Regions from separate parts of the Homo sapiens genome. Here all the other regions are linked to region 5. Evidence: promoter capture Hi-C in 16 types of primary human blood cells and fetal thymus (Javierre and others, 2016). All regions are on one chromosome and are shown on one strand. Each heading gives the region's core, a stretch centred on a gene start or on the middle of the fragment in contact. The rest is flanking DNA. Distances are from core to core; before and after follow the strand shown. Region 1 has its middle 27 kb from the start of RTP1. Region 2 holds the start of DGKG (diacylglycerol kinase gamma). Region 3 has its middle 43 kb from the start of RPL39L. Region 4 holds the start of RPL39L (ribosomal protein L39 like). Region 5 holds the start of RFC4 (replication factor C subunit 4). Region 6 overlaps RPL39L (ribosomal protein L39 like). Region 7 has its middle 4.6 kb from the start of RTP1.

Region 1 (2,700 bases), core at 28-2,527, 360 kb after region 5:
TAAGAAACCTTAACTTGTCCTGAGAATTTGAAGAGGAATCCTTCCGCTTCCAGAGATCTTTGTTATTCGCTCTCATGACCTATCTATCTTGGCATGATGTGATGGTTGTATGAATGCCAGCAAATCACTATAGACTCTAAGTTCACTGACAGCAGAGTCTGCCTTCTTTGTAAATAAATACTTTACTCTTACCACACATACTGAAATATAGTAGAGTTCAACAAATGTTTCTTAAATGATGAGGGGTCTTTTGGTCTTATATAGTTCAGGTGGTTGGGGTATGGAGTAAAGGATTTAAATATTTGGCCAATCAAATTAAAAAGGGAAGCTGTCCTGGATTTGTTTTAAGTGATGATCCAGGGCAGAGGATTTGCTCAGGACTTAGCAGTAGAATGATGCTCTACCTGAAAAGCTTGTTTGTTTTTGCTGAGTAGGTACTGAGCACTTTCTCACTATTTTTCTCTCCCTTCTCACATTGGTAGCTGCAAACATAGAGCTTGTTTTGTGGTACTCCTATAACACATGTATACATCTATGCCCCAAATCCAGTCCTGGATCCATCTTATTTACAGTTTTATTCCCTTTTACCTTCTGCTTTTGTTTTTACTATTAAAATTTTTTTTAAATTTCAAATTTCCAAATGCAACTCCTTGAAATTCTTCATAATCATTCTTCATAATTCCTCATAATTCTTCAAAAAGAATTCCTTAAAATCATCTAATTTAGTACATAATTAAGTTGTCTGTGTTATCTCAAACATGCCTTTTTATAGTTGATTTGATTCAGTCAGAAAGTTCACATATCACATCGGGTTGTGCGTCTCAATTCTTTTTAACTTTATAGCAGTCCTCCTTCCCCCTCTTCTTCTTTACCATTTATTTATTTGGAAAAAAAATCATGTATCTTGTAGAATTGCTCACATTTTGGACTTTGGTGATACATTCTTGTGGTTTTTGTCTGAGACGTTTCCTCATACTTCGTATTTCCTCTAGACTATCTACAGGCCTGATCAGGTATGTTTTTTTTTTTTTTTTTTTTGGAAGTCTCACTCTGTCACCCAGGCTGGAGTGCAGTGGCACGATCTAGGCTCACTGCAACCTCTGCCTCCCGGGTTCAAGCGATTCTCCTGCCTCAGGCTCCTGAGTAGCTGGGATTACAGGCACGCGCCACCATGCCCAGCTAAATTTTGTATTTTTAGTAGAGACAGGGTTTCATCATGTTGGTCAGGCTGTTCTCGAACTTCTGACCTCGTGATACACCCACTTTGGCTTCTCAAAGTGCTGGGATTATAGGCGTGAGCCACCGCACCCAGCCAGATTTGGATTTTTTAATGTGACTATTTCAGTGCTAGTGTTGGACTGTTCCTGCAGCGTTATATTAGGAGACACGTGATGTCTGATTGCCTTTCTTTTCTTAATTGATCAGTAAGATCAGATGGTGTCAGCCTGACCCATCCACTATAAAGTTCCCCACAACATCTTAATTAATGAGTTTAGCAGATTTAGATTTTTTTCTTTATCATTATTTCATTAGGACTGCAAAATAGTGATATTCTGATCCTATTGTTCCCTTTTATTTTTTATTTATTTACTTTTTGAGATAGAGTCTTGCTCTGTCACCCAGGCTGGAGTTCAGTGGCGCAATCTCAGCTCACTGCAACCCCCACCACCTGGGTTCAAGTAATTCTCATGCCTCAGCTTCGCGAGTAGCTGGGATTACCAGTGTGCTCCACCAGGCCCAGCTGATTTTTTTGTATTTTTAGTAGAGATGGGGTTTCACCACATTGGACAGGCTGGTCTCAAACTCCTGACCTCAAGTGATCTCCCTACTTGGCCTCCCAAAGTGCTGAGATTACAGGTGTGAACCACTGCGCCTCGGCCCCTTTTCTTTTATTAATTGTAATTCTTCTCTAAAGAATAGCTTCCCCTCAACTATTATTTGGTTATCACAAAATGCAGATTACATAAGGAAGCCAAGATAAATATGTAATATTTTTCCCTTGCCTATTTTTGAAATAAATAGTTGGTTTTTTTTATTTAAAATATCATTATTAATTTATGGATTTTTAGCATATTTGATGTACTTCAATGAATTGTGGCCATTATTCTTTTTGATGATCCAATTATTTTGTTTTTGGCCAGTGAAAGCTTCTTCAGGTTAGTTTCATTTGCCTTTTGTCTTTTGACATGACAATAGGAATTTTTGAAATCTGGTACAAGAAAATATTCCAGGCTCATTTTATACATTTATTGACTTATATCTGAAGGAATTATTTTTCCAGAAAGTTCTGATCACTTTTGGTGATCCAGGTGCTGAGAGGTACTTGTTGCTAATGGATTGATGATTTATTTCTTTCAGGTCTGTGTAATAGACAAAGTTAGGAAGTTCATAATTTTTATGGGCAATACAATTTCATTATGATATAATACTTATATTTCCAATTCAAATTCAGATAATAGGAATTTTTATTTACCATCTTAGATTTTATGTATTTCCAATCTCTTTTTGATTACCATAAAAATCTTGGTTCCCAGTAACATTAATAGAAGCACTAATACAATGTGTTACTTACCCTATTAAAATAAAAATAATAACACTGTAATTACTCCCCATCCCCACACTTCAGCCTCCATGAGATATATGGAAACAGTCAAATTATTATGTTTTAAAGTCATTTGAAATAATTCACCATTGAGTAAG
Region 2 (2,700 bases), core at 198-2,697, 440 kb before region 5:
GTCCTGTGTCCTGACCACTGTCTCTCATCATGACCCCTGGTGTTCACCTCCAGATCCAAAGTGTCGTCGCCAAGCCCCCAAAATAAAGGAATGACAAACAGCCCTCCCAGGCCCTCCTCCCCACAGAGAGGTCATCGTATGCTAATGAAGTCCGAGGAGGCAGCGGCGCAGCGCGGGAGAGCGCGCCCACGGGTTCACAGCGCTCCCGGGCACCACTGCGGCGCAGCCACAGATCGCTTCGCGCTGCAGCAGACGCTCCCGCCGCGGGGGGCGACTGGGGGAGGGGTCTCGACCGCCACCCTGAGTTCCGCAGCTCATCCCTCCCATCTGGGAGGTGGTTCTAGCTCTAGTCCCAAGCTTTCCACTGCAGTGATGGTGGGGATGGGGGCAGCACGTCAAATCACCTGTAGGGCTTTTTAGAACTCCACAGCCCCCTCCCCTAATTCTATTCCACTAGTTCAAACGAAGAAAATCTCAGACTAGGCAAGGGGAGGTGGACCGGTGGAGTCTGCGAAAGCACCACAGGTGACTCCGGGTACGCACTCCTCAGGACACAAGCACACACACGGACACATCTTGTGACTCTGAGACTACACAGATCAACCTCAGATTCGACCCTTCCCTCCTTTATTCTCTGAGGTGTCCGTGTTCGCTTCAGCTTCCCTTTAAGTCGCCCTGCGCAGGGGCTTTGTGGAGTGCCCCCAAAGTCCTAGAACCCCGCGGGACGGTCGGAGGCTTTGGCGGCCAGACATTAGGAAAAGCATCTCCTGCTTCTCGGACTGCCTGGAGCGCGAACTGGATATCAAGGAGCCAAGGTTAAGTCCAGAAGAAGAAGGAAATCCGACCAGTTGCTTTAGCAAACTGCCTGGAGCAAGGCCGCCTCCCACCCGCACAGCTTTGAGGCTTGAGGGGGCCTCTCAGTCGCAGAGAGAGCCGAGCCCCACCCTGTGCGTTCCCCAAGCCTGCACCCCTCGAGCGGGGCATCCCTTCCTGCAGGGCTTTGTGGCAGGTGGAACTGTCGGGGTGGGCGCCGTGGCTTTGGCTGCAGCCCCTTCCCTGGCCGCGGGACCGGCTCCCGCTTTGCCCTCCTTTACCAAGTTGCTGCACCGGGTGCTCCCTGAGCCGGGGACCCCCTCCGCCGCGCCGGCCGCCGTCTTACCTCACCAGGCAACACTTGGTTGCGCGGTGGCCCGGGGCGCTCCTTCTTCGCGGTTTATTCCCTTACTTGGGAGGAAAGAGGAACCGAGAGACAGAAGGGGGACCGAAGCTGGCCTCTGGGCGTCTTCCCGCCTGCGCAGCCCTCTCGGGGGAGGGGGATGCAGCCCCAGTGGGTGCCGCGGAGACCAGGCTGCCAGGCTGTGGTTGGTAGCGCCGGGGTCTTCACCCTGTGCTCGGAGTTCAGCAGCTCCAAAGCTGTCTATCTCCGTGGCCCGCTACTACGGCACTGCGGCTCTGTGCCCTGCCCCTCGCAGCCTGGCAAGTCCAGCTGCCACTCTCACTGCGGAGCCCTGCCCCCGGGCGCAGAGCCCGCCCCCGCCACACACACCGGCGCGCGCGCGTACACACACGGCACACACAGACACGCGCTTCCACACATGCACACGCGTGCGCACACACGAATGTGGATCCGCTCGATGGGAACCTGACCCCCTTTGGTGCAACTAGGGCGCGGGCATCATTAGGACGCTTTTTACTGACAGGGCTTCGGTTTGGGAGGAGGAGTTACAGGCTTAGGAGTGTGGAGAGGATGCAACAGTGGTGGGTACCAGAGGGCCCCTGACCCCGGAGGCAAAGGACAACTGTTTGACAAATAAATACCGACTGGGCGTTTCCTTTTCTCAACTCTGGTCAAGGCTACCGTAATATCCCGACCAAATCGAAGAAAAAATAAAAATACAAAATCAACAAGTTCTCTTTGTTTCCCAGGAACTCAGTATCTCTAGGATCCAAATCACTAGCCCTGTCCAGAGGGTCATTTCTGACAACCTTGACTTCGGTGGCAGTGGATTGGTGGCAGTTCAACTCGAAAAGGTTTTCCCCTCGTAGCCTGGTGGAGACTGGCACAGCCTGCCTGAGCTGGACTCTGTTGGATGGGTCGGGTCTCTGGGTGTGTTTAATTCCCATTCTCCTTTGCTTTTAGGTGACCTTGGACTGTATTCCTGCAGAATAAATAGATCTCTTCTTTTTTTAAAATGTAGAAGAGCACAGAAAAGACGCTGGGGTGAGGGGTCGGGGGGAATAGGGGAGCTACATTAGCCAAGGCACTATGACTTGTTGCTTCTCTTTCCATGACGTGCATGTCCACGTGAGGGGGTGATGGTGGTGGTGACACTATTTCAGGCATGTCACACAGCAAGATGACTGCTGTCCATTTCACACCACATTTAGAGTCATTAGGAGTTTAGACTGTCATCTTTAAAATATGTGGAGTTTACTCATTTCCACAGCCGAGAATTCTTTTCTGCCAGTGGGCAGTGAAGGTCCCCGGGCCAGCACTGCAGCCAAGAAAAGCTTTCCGCAGAGTGTGGAGGCGCCGAGGGGCTCTGGGTGTCTGTGCATTTGGGGAAGAAGCCTCAAACACGAATGTCAAACAGCCCTGAGGACCCTGTTGGGTGGTGTCCATACTAGGCTATCTGCAGGCAGGCTGGTGAGACAGATGAGAAACAGAGCTGAGAGATCTCCTTAAGATTCCACACAGTG
Region 3 (2,700 bases), core at 64-2,563, 290 kb after region 5:
AGAGTACCACATCACGGGAACACCGTGTGGGACAAAATAATCTGGGTGACAGGCCTTGAGTCCCAGATCATTCCTGTGGGAAAGTTTCTTTCAGCAGAGACACAATTGCAGTACTGGACTCAGCAGGGGACATCTGTGTCTCTATCCAACAGTCAGACAGGCTTGGTGCTCATGAAAGGTCTTAGAGAAAGGGTCCTCTTTCCCCACTTGTCCACCACTGCAGACACAGCTGGGGCTTCTCTCACGGGAACTCTGTGTGGATTCACCTACAGACAGCCTTCCTGGAACACTTCAGGGCAACTGCATCCCCACAGAAGGAGCATTCCCCAGGTTTGGGCTTGCACAAGAAGCAGACTCACAATTTCTCTCTACTTGAAACACCAATATTCCTACAGACAAAAAGAAGTGCCTGTATAATCTGAATAGCTGGAACACTGGGACAGGTGTGAGGCTGGGAGGTGGATAGCTTTTCTGCTGGCCTGGCAGGGGAGCTGAGATAGCTCCCAACCTTCACTCTGATAAGACCTCAGTGCATCTATTTGGGAGCTCCCCAAGCAACCTTAATCAAGGCTGGGATCTCTGCCCACCATTGGGTATTGCATTTACCCACTTGCTTTAGCTACAACCGGTTCCTACCCAGGGATACAATTCCACCCCTACTGTCCTGAAGCTTGAGCCATTAACTCAGTAAATAAAATAATGGAGAAAAAATAAATAAATATGAGTGCACAACACAGGGAAATGAGATAAGCTTCAAAAGACCCCTACCATTCCAATCCCACAGGAGACAATGAACTTGCCTATACCAAGTACATACATACTACAAGTAGCATCTGAGACAGCCATCACACAAAGACTCTCTATAAGCAAGGAATTCTTACAGAATCTTCACTCATAAAAGCACCAAGAACCAAATTCAGCTGTAATAAACTATAAATATTGAAGTCACATCCTTAAGAGAAAAAAAAAGAAATTAAAAAAAATGAAACCAAAAATAAATTCAAGAACAATTACAAGAAATAGTCTACCCAAATGAGAAGGAACCAGAAAAGAGATTCTGGTAATATGACAAAATGGGGTTCTATAATGCCCTGAAAAGATCATACTAGCTCCCCATCTCTGGATCCAAAGCAAGATGAAATCTTTGAAATACCAGATAAGGAATTCAGAAGGTTTATTATTAAGCTGCTCAAGGAGATACTGGAGAAAGGTGAAAACCAACATAAAGAAATTTAAAAATCAATACAGGATGTGGATGAGAAATTTTCCAGAGAGATAGATATAAGGAAAAACTAATCAGAATATCTGGAAATGAAAGACACACTTAGGGAAATAAAAATACAGTGGAAAGTTTCAACAATGAACTAGAACAATAGAAGAAAGAATTTCAGAGCTTGAAGACAAGGCTTTTGAATTAGCCCAATCAGATAAAGATAAAGAATCAAAAGAACAAAGTCTCCAAGAAATATGGGACTACGTAAAATGGCCAAACCTAAGAAGAGTTGTTGTTCCTGAGGGAACAGAGAAGGATAAAAGTTTGGAAAACGTATTTGAAGTAATAATTGAGAAAAAGTTTCCTGGCCTCGCTAGAGATTTAGATATCCAAGTACAGGAAGCTCCTAGAACATCTGAGAAATTAATTGCAAAAAGATCATCACCAAGGCAAAAAGTGATCAGGCTATCTAAAGTTAATATGAAGGAAAGAATTCTAAGAGCTGTGAGACAAAAGCATCAGGTAACCTATAAAGGAAAACATATCAGGCTAATAACAGACTTCTCAGCAGAAACCTTACAAGCTAGAAGAGATTGGGTGTCCTATCTTTAGACCCCTTAAACACAATAATTGTCAGTCAAGAGTTTCGTATCCAGCAAAACTAAGCTTCATAAATTAGAGCAAAATAAAGTCTTTTTCAGACAAACAAATGCTGGGGTTATTTGCCACTACCAAACCAGCACTACAAGAAATGCTAAAAGGTGTTTTAAATTGTGAAAGAAAAGCTTGATATGCACCAAAATAGAACTTCCTGAAAGCATAAAACTATAAGGCCTATAAAATGTAATGAATGTATGAATGTAAATGGCCTAAATGCTCCACTTAAAAGGTACAGAATGGCAGAATGGATTAAAAAAAAACATAAACTAGATATCTTCTGTCTTCAAGAGACTCACCTAACACATAAAAATTCATGTAAACTCAGGGTAAAGGAGTGGAAAAAGATATTCCACACAAATGGAAACCAAAAGTAAGCCAGAGTAGCTATTGTTATATCAGACAAAACAGATTTTAAAGCAACAACAGCCAAACACAAGCAAACAAAATACAAAGAATAACATTATATAATGATAAAAGGATCAGTCCAACAAGAAGATATTACAACCATAAATTTATATGCACCTAACACCAGAGTTCCAAGATTTATGAAACAATCACTACTAAATCAAAGAAATGAGATAGACAGCAACACAGTAATAGTGGGAAATTTCCATACTCCACTGACAGCACTAGAAAGATCACTGAGACAGAAAGTTAACAAAGAAGCAGTGGACTTCAACTATATGCTAGAACAAATGGACTTAACAGATATTTACAGAACATTCTACTCAACTACTGGAGAATATACATTCTTCTTATCAGAACATGGAACATTCTCCAAGATAGACTGTATCATAAGCCACAAAACAAGTCTCAATAAATATAAG
Region 4 (2,700 bases), core at 131-2,630, 330 kb after region 5:
GTTGTAGTGAGTCATGATTGAGTCAATGCACTCCAGCTTGGGCAACAGAACAACACTCTTCCTCAAAAAAAAAAAAAAAAAAAAAAAAAAGTGTCAGGTGCAGTGGCTCACACCTGTAATCCCAGCATTTTGGGAGGCCAAAATGCTCAGGATCACCTGAGGTCAGGAGTTCCAGACCAGCCTGGCCAACATGGTGAAACCCCGTCTCTACTAAAAATACAAAATAATTAGACAGCGTGGTGGCACATGCCTGTAGTCCCAGCTACTTGGGGAGGTGAGGCAGGAGGATCACCTGAACCCGGGAGGCGGAGGCTGCAGTGAGCCGAGGTTGCACCACTGCACTCCAGCCTGGGCAACAGAGTAAGACTCCGTCTTCAAAAAAGAAAAAGAAAAATTGGCCGGGTGCGGTGGCTCACGCCTGCAATCCCAGCACTTTGGGAGGCTGATGCGGGCAGATCATCTGAGGTCAGGAATTCGAGACCAGCCTGGCCAACCATGGCCAACATGGTGAAACCCCGTCTTTACTAAAAATACAAAAATTAGCCGGGTGTGGTGGCAGGCACAGCTACCACAATCCCAGCTACTCGGGAGGCTGAGACGGGAGAATCACTTGAACCCAGGCAGCAGAAGTTGCAGTGAGCCAGGATTGCGCCACTGCACTCCAGCGACAGAAGGATACTCCGTCTCAAAAAAAAAAAAAAAGGAAAAAAAGAGACTTTAAAAGCTGGTGTGCGTTTTAACATTTGTAGCACATCTTTTTTCAGACCAGCCACATTTCAAGTGCTGAATAGCTACATGTGATTCAATGAGCTTTGGTCAGCTCAGCTTTACAACCTCTCAGGTTCTTTCTCTAAGCAAACTCTCTTAGGTTCTGAAATTGAGAAGGCGTGGAGGGTGACTATTGGATTACAAAGCCTTTATGATTCCAACAACTCTCAGTTAATAGAAGCATCCGTCCTGTCTCTTGATGTCCTAGTGACTAAAGACATGTCTAGAGAAGAAACTCTTTTAACTATATTTTTATATAGTTACATGACAGCCTTTGAGAAAATTGAGAATTAAGGCCAGGCCCAGTGCAAAATGAAAATGTTGTGGAGGTGGCGGGGAGGGGAGGCGGGTGCTGGTTTAAAAATTAAGAATTTCAAGATTGCCATAGCAGAGCAAGAAAGTAAGTACAGGGCCCTTCTGAGCCCTATGTGACTGCACGGGTGGGACCCTTTTGAAGCTAGTCCTGGTCAGGGTTTATGTCTCTGGATGAATCCAGATGTGTAAAAGGCAAGGAAGTGGCGAGATTCCTTGGGCTATCTTTGAGAAACGGGGACCTTAAAGGAGACTGCAAAATCTTACCTACTGGAATTAATGGAGGAAAAGAAAGTGTTTGCGCCTGTGAGAACGCCTTGGAAAGAGGCAGTGAGCAGATGAGGCAGATAGGTAAGACACTTGGTTTTGCTGATTAAACCACTGATGAATCAGTGCCACTCACATCCTGGGTAATTCTAGGGACACTAGTTGGACAACGCTGACATCTGAAGAGGTGGCAGGGCGGAACATGGATCCCTTTAAGGCTACTTTATTGTCGATTTCCTCCTTCTCTAAGCTAGAAACAGGGGGTGCCTGAGTGGCCTCCAGAAGCCACTACTGTAGGCCAGGAGCAGTGCCTCACGCCTGTAATCCCAGCACTTTGGGAGGCCGAGGCGGGCGGATCACCTGAGGTCGGGAGTTCGAGACTGGTGTGACCAATATGGTGAAACCCGTCTTTACTAAAAATACAAAAATTAGCCGAGTGTGGTGGCGCGCGCCTGTAACCCCAGCTACTCAGGAGGCTAAGGCGGGAGAATCGCTTGAATCCGGAGGCGGAGGTTGCAGTGAGCCGAGATCACACCACTGCACTCCAGCCTGGGCGACGGAGGGAGACCCTGTCTCAAAAAACAAACAAACAAACAAACAAACAAAAACGCTACTACTGTTGGAGTCGGCTTGAGCTGTGGCATTGTTGTTTCCAGCCCGTGACCCTCACGCCGCCCTGCTCGTTGGGCGGACCGGGCCCTGGCGGCGGGTGAGGAGGAACCTTTACTTACCGGCGCCCTGGCCTCTGCTTTTTTCCCACTCTAGGACGCAAATCTCGATCTGCAAGGGCCTGGGGCGCGGGCGGAAAAGGCGGGCCCAGCTCCCTCAGGTCTGCGTGTCACCGACCCGAACCCGCTCCGTCGTCCTGACGCCCCCGGCCTAGCTGCAGCCACCTTGTCGCAGGGGCCTTGGTGTCTCTGAGACTCCGAGACGCCTCGCCCCCACCTGGCGTTCGGAGGCGGTTGCCTCGCTGGGCGCAGCAATTCAACCGCCGCGCGCCGGATGCTAAGACCGCGATTTCCCCGGATGCTAGGGCGGTGATTTCCCCCGTGACAGGCCCCGCCCCGGCCCCGCCCAGGCCCGGGCGGTCCCGCCCCACTGAGCTGTGGCTCGGGGAGCCGTGGGTCCGACTCCTGCGTGTGATGTGTCACCAAGTTGACTTTGGGGTCCCCCATTCTTCCTTAGTTCTCTATTTTACCTCAGCGCGTTGTCTAGCTGCTGCCTGGCCACGGTACTTAGCACACAGCGTGACTTAATACTGGATAAACGAGGAAAGGATTCGTACGCCCTGGCGGGGCCAGAGGCTCACAGCTTGGGTTCCCGCGAGCACACGAGCCAGGAACCGCCAATGCC
Region 5 (2,700 bases), core at 142-2,641:
TCTTTCACAGTCATGGGCCTAGCTCTAGCTCAGACCCTGAAATGGACTCTTCGGCAATTAAAGGTGCTCTGCTTGCACCACAAATGAGAACCTTCACTCCTTTCCTTGGGTCAGAACTCAAAGACCTTTTTTTGTTGTTGTTGTTTTTGAGACAGGGTCTCACTCTTTTGCCTAGGATGGAGTGCAGTGGCGGAATCATGGTTCACTGCAGCCTTGACATCCCAGGCTCCTGTCATCTTCCCACTTCAGCCTCCCCAGTAGCTAGGACTACAGGTGCGTGCCACCACCCCCGGCTAATTTTTTAAATTTTTGGTAGAGACAGGGTTTCACCATGTTGCCTAGGCTGGTCTGGAACTCCTGGGCTCAAGTAATCCTCCTGCCCCGGCCTCCCAAAGTGCTGGGATTACAGGTGTGAGCCATCTCGCCTGGCCAGGGACCTATTTTCATGGCAGAGTCAATGCTTACCTACCTTCAGAGACTTTCTGTGGGGAAGGGAAGGTGGGGGACTCTGTTGTTAAAATAGAAACAGCTGTTTTTCTCATAACACACTCACTTGAAGAAATCAAAACAATGCATAAAAGCATGAGAGATTTAAAAAAGTAATACAAAATCCCACCCAGAAGGTAACTATTTCTAACATGCAGGTAAACATTCTTCCAGGCTGTTTTCAGGGATAAAAAGCATCATTAGCTCGCCTGAAAAGTCCCCGGTTAATTCTATTTTTTTCACTGCTACATGCCCTGGTGCCTAGAACAGTGCCTGGTACATGGTAGATGCTCCGTAATATTTGGTGAATGAATTACCATCTATGATACCCGGTTTCCTTTTCTGTTAAAGGAGCTAAGGCCTATTCCACAGGACAACTGAGTTAAATAAAAGAATGTATGCAAATACATAGTTCCTTGCTTGGCATATGGGGATATGCTCAATAAAATAAATTTTTAATATCTGTTAGCAGCCAAGGTTTTTATAACGTTACTGGATTAGTCCATCCCTGCCTCGGGCTGTTAAACATTAATACAGCCCAAAGCCGGGGCCTGCAAGATGCTGTCCGGAACCACCATTTCACCAAAGGGCGCGGCCAGGGCATGAAAGGGCCACTAGGCTGGGGCCCCGAAGGAGGTGGAAGACCTCACAAGGGGCATCAAGGGCAGGAGTGGGGAAGGCGAAGCGGGCTTGCAGTTCCTCCAGCAGGTTACCAGTTAGCCTGGCTTCTCGTGCAGGTCACCGCCGCCGGCTCGTTCCTCAGGTTTCCGCGATACAAAAAGGACGAGATGGTCTCGAAGTCTTAGCTCCGTCACCTAATCTGAGAATAACGGGCCCAGGAGACTTACGATCACTGATGTCCCCACAGTCGCCTCAGTTCCCGCCACGGAACGGCGGGCGAAAAGCAGGGCGGGAATACGCCGGTAGGAATACGCGGGCACGTAACGCGTCACTTCCGGTGCTGGGGCGCGCTGCTTGCGGAGGGAGTTTGCCCGTATACGGTTTTATTTAGGCAGGTGATGAGCCAGCCGGACTTTCAGGCAGAACTGGACTGGAACAGGCATGGCCTAGGAGGTGTCCCTGTCCCGGTGCATTGCTCCCACTTCAGACGTGAGCGCGACCCTCCCGGAAGGAGTAGAGGTCGCGCGGGCACGGCGCTGGGGCTGCTTACCTGGCAGGCTCAGCAATGAGGGCGGGGCGGCGGCGCGCGGGCCTCTGGAACCCTGCCGGTCCACCGAAGGTCCCGAGCCCGCTATCTTCGTAGGTGCGGGCCTCCGGAGGTGCAGGTCCCTGTCCTCCTTGTCCTGCTTCGTCGCAGAGCAGAACGCGTGTGCTTTAAGGGCAGAGACATCTGAAGATGCTTTGCCTTGCCCTCTTGAGGACACGTGGCTTTTACTTCTAATAGTGTCTGCGTGTTGTGGAGAGAGAAGACCATGCAGCTGTGGACATCTATTATAATTCCTGAGCCCCACTTAGAAATCTGGAAGTGAAGGCGTTCAATAAAAGTTAAAGGACTGATAATCATGTTTAGCCCCACCAAGCTTCATGCACAGTGGGCTAGGCTGGTGCCTGAGCCCACTGCTTTTATCTCTTCCAAGTACTTGGTTTAGCTCTGAAATGCTCCTTAATCCTATTGAAACCTGACCCTTCTCAAAGGCCACCTTCTCTACTGGTCTTTACTAATTACTAACCCATAAGGTTGTTCCGGGTCTTCTTCAAATGACTGTTTTGTTTGGCACAAACTCAGCATGATATCCATTGTTAACTTTGTACGTTTTTTTCATTTATCTTGCAACAAATGCTTACAGAATGTCCACGCACTGTGTTAGATGCCTGCAGATACAGCAGGGAAAACGCTCGAGATGCCCTCAAGTAGCTTTACAGACTAGGAGAGTGACAGACAATGTGATGTGTGGTTATGCAGAGGAAGTAGGGGGCTGTGAGAACTTACATCCCAGGCCTAACCCAATCAAGGGTTTAACCAAAGTAAGGATGCTTTATGCTACTTTGTAATTTCCACAGAGTCTGATACAATCTCTGGACAGTATAAAAAACACACAGGTTATCTATCTGGTCACCGGTTTACATTACCATAACTTATCAAACTGTATACTTAATGCTTGTATATTTTATTGTATGTAAATTATACCACAATACAGTTGATAAAACAAGATCTATGAAAATAGATGGTATCCATTTGCTACCTGAAGGAAC
Region 6 (2,700 bases), core at 97-2,596, 320 kb after region 5:
ATAGACCCAGCTTGGTTCTTCTCCAATGCCTCCTTTTGGAGTTGTACCTGATTTTACTACCAGGTTTCATCTGAATCCACTGGGGGATGGGACGATTTTGCTTTTGTTTCTTGGCCAGGAATCGCTTAATGGTGAAAGTCTTGTGAGAAGACATGGCGAGAAACAGAGTCAACCACACACCACTATGGCGGAGAAAGGGAGAGAGAGACAGAGACAATATTACCATAGGATAGGATAAGGTAACATGAAGAAATAACAAGACAAGAAAGAGGATCTTTAGTGCCACAGCGAGGGCTCATTGCCACTCAGGATCCCACAGGCAGCTCAGGAGCAGCTCAGGAGCCAGCAGCGGTCTGAGGAGTCTGATGGCTGTTCTGGTGGATCAGCAGCAAAGGCAGGAGTCCCTTTGTTCCTACTGTTCCTGACTTGATGCTACTCATTTCTCAGCAACATACTTCTGCTTCTCTTGTTAAATGTCCATCAAGAGGAATTATTTTCAACTTTAAAAAAGTTACGAACAGGTAATACCAGTTCATTACAGAAAAATTAAAGCAATAGAACACTAAAAAAAACTATTATCCCATCTAGCTAGAAAAAGCCCCAATATTAACAACTTGATATTATAAGAGCCTTCCAGTTAAGACAGATGTACATGCAGAATATTGTCTTTCTATAAATTGAGATATTGTAGATATTATTTTGTAACTACAACTTATCTAACTAATATGTGACCCTTTTTTGGCAACTCTTTCTCAATAACCCTTTACATTTGGAGGTCTTAAATCTTTTCCAGTGTCCTGCTATGGCAAATAGTACAGAACAGGAAAACATGGTTGAAAATAGAAACCTATAAAACAAGTAATTCATCCCCACAACACTTAAAATATGAATGTATACATTTAAAACATGCGATTTGCTGTAAAACTATCTCACGGTACTTTCATGTTACTACTATTTTAAAAGCCACTGGCTGTGCATACTAATATTTTTATCTAATTATCAAAATTGACCACATTGCCATCTACTGAATTGCATGCTACCACTCCATTTAAAGATCTTGGGTCCTCCATAATTAACGAACATCAACCTGGGGCCAGAGACACAGTAGTTATTTTTAATGATTCAGATGCAAAATAATGTCTACATCTCAGATTGTGAGAGTAATTACATGATGGCAGTAAAGTCTTACTGCAAACAGTGTTGGAGATATACAAACAGTATGGATCTGTCATGACAAAGGCATTTTTTTTTAACTCTAAGATAATGGGGATAGTGGTAGTGTGCAAAAAGTATGACTGTTTCTGACTGTCTGAGTTCACACACAGTGTCTAACCCAGTCTCTTCAGATGTGACCCAAGCTATTATCTTGGTTTCTGTCTTATGGCTCACTGTTGTGAGATGTTTATTCTATGTCTGGCATCTCCCCTAACATGCAGGCAGGAAGAAGAGAAAGAAAGAAAGAAAGGCAAAAGAGTACATGCTGTGAGGCTACCGGCTTTTAAGGAGCTTTACTAGGTATCTCTCTCAATACCTTTGATTACACCTTATTGGCAAGAACTGTGTTCCACTGCCATCCTTAGCAGTAATGAAGGATGGGCACTATAGTTTTTTAGCTGAGCACATGATGCCCCTAACCCCACACAAATCAGGTTCTGCTAAAGAAAAAGGAAGAAGAATGAATAGCAGAGTAGATAACTAGCAGTCTTTGCTATAACAATTTTGGAAAAGATAATTTAGGATACTTCTGTGAATTTCAGCTCTCAAAATAACCAAAAGAAAATAGAGGAAAATTTAAAAAAGAGAAAAAGGAAGTTCTCAATAGAAATACCTATTAGTCTAGGTATTGAAAAATGGGGTGGAAAAAAAGTCCAAATTGATGGGCAACCCATAAATATCATGGTAAGGAAATACCAGAAGAAATAAGAGTGCTAATTATACTGTCTGCCTTTCAACCCTAATATCCAAACTTCAGACACTTCTGAGACAACTGCCCTAGTGGGGAGGCCAGTGTCCCCAGATTTGTACATCTTCCCACTGGGAACTTTCAGGAGCAGGAGACTTTATGTGCAAGTAACAGATGAGTAGGCAACTAAGTTGGGGTATAGTGTGGGGTGTGGTTGAGATACAAATGTTTCATGAAATATAAAACATTGAAAACTAAGCCGCAAGTATCCTTGTAGGAGTCTACAGGTTACGAGAATAACAAATAGGCCTGAAAATGCCAAATGGGTGATAAAGATAGGGAAAGTACACTACTATTTCTGCCCAATCCTTTTATTTTCTTCCCATACATTAGCAGCAAAGAACTTTTAGCTACCAATCACAGTTCATCTTAAATTGACCACATGCTGACTTTAGCTAGCTATCTAGCAGACCCTGTTCTACCCTTTGTATATTAATTCCCTCTATACAATCTATCAGTGACTATTTGGCTCCAACCACTTCAGAAAAAAAGTCTTCAAGAATACAGGGAAAGAACTAGACTGGGTTGCCAACAAACCCAGAGTCTTAACACCCTCTCCCTTGGGAACCCTGGTTGTACTGGTTAGGGTTCTTGAAGCCAATCTTGTTTGAAAGTCTTCTGTAAGAAAAATCTACTGTAGTAAGATAAAGAACTACAGTAGGACAAATAGTTTACTGTACTATTCCAAGTATTCATTTCCAATGAAGAGGATGATAGTGTGCTCACCTCTGGAGACA
Region 7 (2,700 bases), core at 37-2,536, 390 kb after region 5:
TTCCTATCTGGCTATGTTTTGGGATTGGACTTGCTGGATTAGTTTACTCTTTGGCTACTTTGCCTTTTTGATCCTTAGTTTGCTTTTTTTTTTTTTTTTTTTTGCAAAATAATGTCAACCTCTACCTACATCATAGAATTGGACATCGTGTTCTCAAGGCACTAAGCTCTTTGAAGGATGAAGAAAAATAATCAGGTACTGTGGTAGAAAGTCTCCAAAGATGGCTGCCACCAATTCCTTCCCTTCCTATAGGCACAGGCAATTTCCCCATCAAGAGTTGAAGTTTATTTCCCATTCCCCTATATCGGGCTGGCCCTGTGATTGCTTTCATCAACAGAATATGACAGGAGTGATGTTATGGGACTTCTGACTCTAGCCTTAAGGAGGACTGGAAGCTTCCATTTATTCTTCCTAGAATGAATCTTCTTGGAAACAAACTACCATGTAGTGAAGAAGCCTGAGCAGCTAAAAGGAAAGACCCAAGTGGAGAAATACCATAATGGTGAATAAGGCATTATGAAAGTTCACAAATGGCAGAGGCATTGTGGAGAGGAAGGGAAGTCCATATTCACGGTAATTGTTTCTTCCAGTGAAAACAAAGGTCTATCCCTTCCTTGATGGAAATGGTCCAGTGTAATCAACTTGCCACCAGGTCGTTGGTTGTTTCCCATGGAATCATGGCCCAATCAATTGTTCAGTGTTGGTCTCTCTCTGTTTTTGGAATTTGGGCATTGTATTAGTCCATTCTTGCACTGCTAAAAAGAAATACCTGAGACTGGGTAATTTATTAATATAAAGAAAAGAGGTTTAATTGGCTCAGGGTTCCATAGGCTGTACAGGTAGCATAGCTGAGGAGGCCTTAGGAAACTTACAATCATGACGGAAGGTGAAGGAAAGCAGGCTTGTCTTACGTGGCTGAAGCAGGAGGAAGAGAGAGCGAAGGGGGAGGTGCTACACTCATTTAAACAACCAGATCTCATGAGAACTCACTCACTATCACCAGAAGAGCAAGGGGGAAATCCACCACTATAATCCAATCACCTCCCACCAGGACCCTCTTCCAACATTGGGGATTACAATTCAACATGAGATTTGGGTGGGGACACAAATCCAAACCATATCAGGCACTTAGCAGTGGATTTAGAGAATTCCTTATATACCATTGTGATATTCCATATAGCATTGCTTCTGACTGGCAACTCATTTCAAAGTAAAGGAAATCTGGCAATGAGCTCACACTCATGAAATTCATTAGTCTTAACTATATCACCCATAATCCTGAAGTAGTTGGCCTGATTGAACAATGTGGTGGTCTTTGGAAGACTCAGTTATAGAATCAGCTGGGGGACAGGACCTTGCAGGGCTAGGATAATGTTCTCCAGGATGTGGTACATGCTCAGAATTAGCAACCATGATGATATAGTGCTTAGTTCCAAGAATTAAAGGGTAGAATGGACTGGCTTTCTCAAAATTAGCCCTAATGGTAAACTAGTTTTTTTTCCCTTTTCTTTCTGTACCCATAACTTTGATCTCTGCTATTTTAGAAATCTTAGTACCCAAGGAAAAAAAATGTTGCCATTAGAGAAGAAAATTAAAAATTCCTTTAAAGTTGAGACTACTACATGGGCTCTTAATATCATTAAATCAACAGATGGAGGGGCTTACTGTTCTGGTCCAGCAATGTTGGGGCATTCTGGAAGGAAAGAGTCTTTGTTTTGGGACTGTGAGGCACATTTAGATCTTTGGTACAGGGTACCAGTAGAAACTTCCAGTCATGGGTCCAGCCCTAAAACACACCCCTCCTTCTTCTCAAATGCCATTTAGGGATAGAAAATTGTGCATAGTTGAGAATTTTTCATGAGTGCATCATTTCAAGAAAAAAAATTAGAGGCTTGTTTTTTCTTTTCATTGCTCTATTTTCTAGTTGGGAACTTAATTTAAAGCATTTTATCCACTTAAAACATGATCACAAACTTTAAGAAATTGACCAGGGTGAGGCCAACAGCTTTAGAGATGTCTGAATTGGCCTTCTCTAAATTGTAGATTCCATGGTGTTAGAGGTCATTTGATAGAGAGCAAGTTGCAATACCACAGTATTTTTTTCTGTCTTGATAGAAATTTTTATTAGAGAAAATACTCTGCTATCCAGAAGGATGCATTATATTGGCCTCTGCACAGCAAGCTTGGGTTCTAAATAAAACTTAATTTGTGCCAATGGGGATTGCATCAGCTGGTTACACACACACACACACTCACACACACACACACACACACCCCTCTGGTGATTCTTACTTTCTGTCTTCTGTCATCATAGTGTTTATTGTAGCAACACCTGCAAAATACTTCTAGAGGATTTGTTCTGGGTAGCACTGTTTGTTATAAGCTCCTCTCAGCTTCACGTATTTTCTGGGAAGGTCCACAGCCCCCATTCTCATTTTGGCCAGTAACTCCCACCTGAGGCAGTTCCCATCATATCTGTGAGGTTTGTTAAACGAGTTTACTTATTTAGGTGTTGGTTGCCTTAATTCAGAGGTAAGAATACTGACTTGAAGGACTGAAAGTTTAATGAAGGGTCCTGAAGAACTTAAGAGTTTTTCCCAATGCCGGCCAGGTGAGATGGCGCATGCCTGTGATCTTAGCACTTTGGGAGGTGGAGGCAGGAGGTTTGCTTGAGCCCAGGAGTTTGGGACCAGCCTGGGC

What was found. The method cuts DNA at HindIII sites, captures the fragments that hold promoters and counts their contacts. A CHiCAGO score of 5 or more calls a contact.
Region 1: a contact is called between a fragment that was not itself captured here and the fragment with the promoter of RFC4 in region 5, in 9 of 17 cell types (naive B cells, total B cells, naive CD4 T cells and 6 more). The highest score is 8.1, in naive B cells.
Region 2: the fragment with the promoter of DGKG here is called in contact with the fragment with the promoter of RFC4 in region 5 in 1 of 17 cell types (M0 macrophages); the score reaches 5.1 in M0 macrophages.
Region 3: a contact is called between a fragment that was not itself captured here and the fragment with the promoter of RFC4 in region 5, in 5 of 17 cell types (total CD4 T cells, non-activated CD4 T cells, total CD8 T cells and 2 more). The highest score is 6.1, in total CD4 T cells.
Region 4: a contact is called between a fragment that was not itself captured here and the fragment with the promoter of RFC4 in region 5, in 6 of 17 cell types (naive CD4 T cells, naive CD8 T cells, activated CD4 T cells and 3 more). The highest score is 9.7, in naive CD4 T cells.
Region 6: a contact is called between a fragment that was not itself captured here and the fragment with the promoter of RFC4 in region 5, in 6 of 17 cell types (naive CD8 T cells, naive CD4 T cells, activated CD4 T cells and 3 more). The highest score is 6.7, in naive CD8 T cells.
Region 7: a fragment that was not itself captured here is called in contact with the fragment with the promoter of RFC4 in region 5 in 2 of 17 cell types (total B cells and naive B cells); the score reaches 5.7 in total B cells.

What each region holds. Positions count from the first base shown.
Region 1 is chr3:187,169,346-187,172,045 of GRCh38, forward strand. No RefSeq gene overlaps it. Among named protein-coding and RNA genes, the nearest start is that of RTP1, 27 kb to the right of the region's middle. RefSeq lists an enhancer at 1,498-1,999. The HindIII fragment of the contact is 1,735 bases long and covers 411-2,145 here.
Region 2 is chr3:186,360,787-186,363,486 of GRCh38, forward strand. It overlaps DGKG (diacylglycerol kinase gamma), which reads right to left and starts at 1,448. Exons shown (of 25, transcript NM_001346.3): 1 at 1,160-1,448. RefSeq lists an enhancer at 216-733 and a silencer at 1,518-1,607. The HindIII fragment of the contact is 2,154 bases long and covers 356-2,509 here.
Region 3 is chr3:187,094,939-187,097,638 of GRCh38, forward strand. No RefSeq gene overlaps it. Among named protein-coding and RNA genes, the nearest start is that of RPL39L, 43 kb to the right of the region's middle. The HindIII fragment of the contact is 1,128 bases long and covers 750-1,877 here.
Region 4 is chr3:187,137,135-187,139,834 of GRCh38, forward strand. It overlaps RPL39L (ribosomal protein L39 like), which reads right to left and starts at 2,362. Exons shown (of 3, transcript NM_052969.3): 1 at 2,079-2,362. RefSeq lists enhancers at 1-378, 1,568-2,074, 1,943-2,042, 2,083-2,232 and a silencer at 2,273-2,502. The HindIII fragment of the contact is 4,719 bases long and covers 1-2,700 here.
Region 5 is chr3:186,805,091-186,807,790 of GRCh38, forward strand. It overlaps RFC4 (replication factor C subunit 4), which reads right to left and starts at 1,392. Exons shown (of 11, transcript NM_002916.5): 1 at 1,200-1,392. RefSeq lists enhancers at 948-1,559, 1,560-2,171. The HindIII fragment of the contact is 2,364 bases long and covers 1-2,025 here.
Region 6 is chr3:187,121,147-187,123,846 of GRCh38, forward strand. RPL39L (ribosomal protein L39 like) reads right to left here. Exons shown (of 3, transcript NM_052969.3): 3 at 1-182. The coding sequence starts at 154. It also overlaps the pseudogene RPL39P19. Among named protein-coding and RNA genes, the nearest start is that of RPL39L, 17 kb to the right of the region's middle. The HindIII fragment of the contact is 3,064 bases long and covers 1-2,700 here.
Region 7 is chr3:187,191,575-187,194,274 of GRCh38, forward strand. No RefSeq gene overlaps it. Among named protein-coding and RNA genes, the nearest start is that of RTP1, 4.6 kb to the right of the region's middle. The HindIII fragment of the contact is 1,787 bases long and covers 394-2,180 here.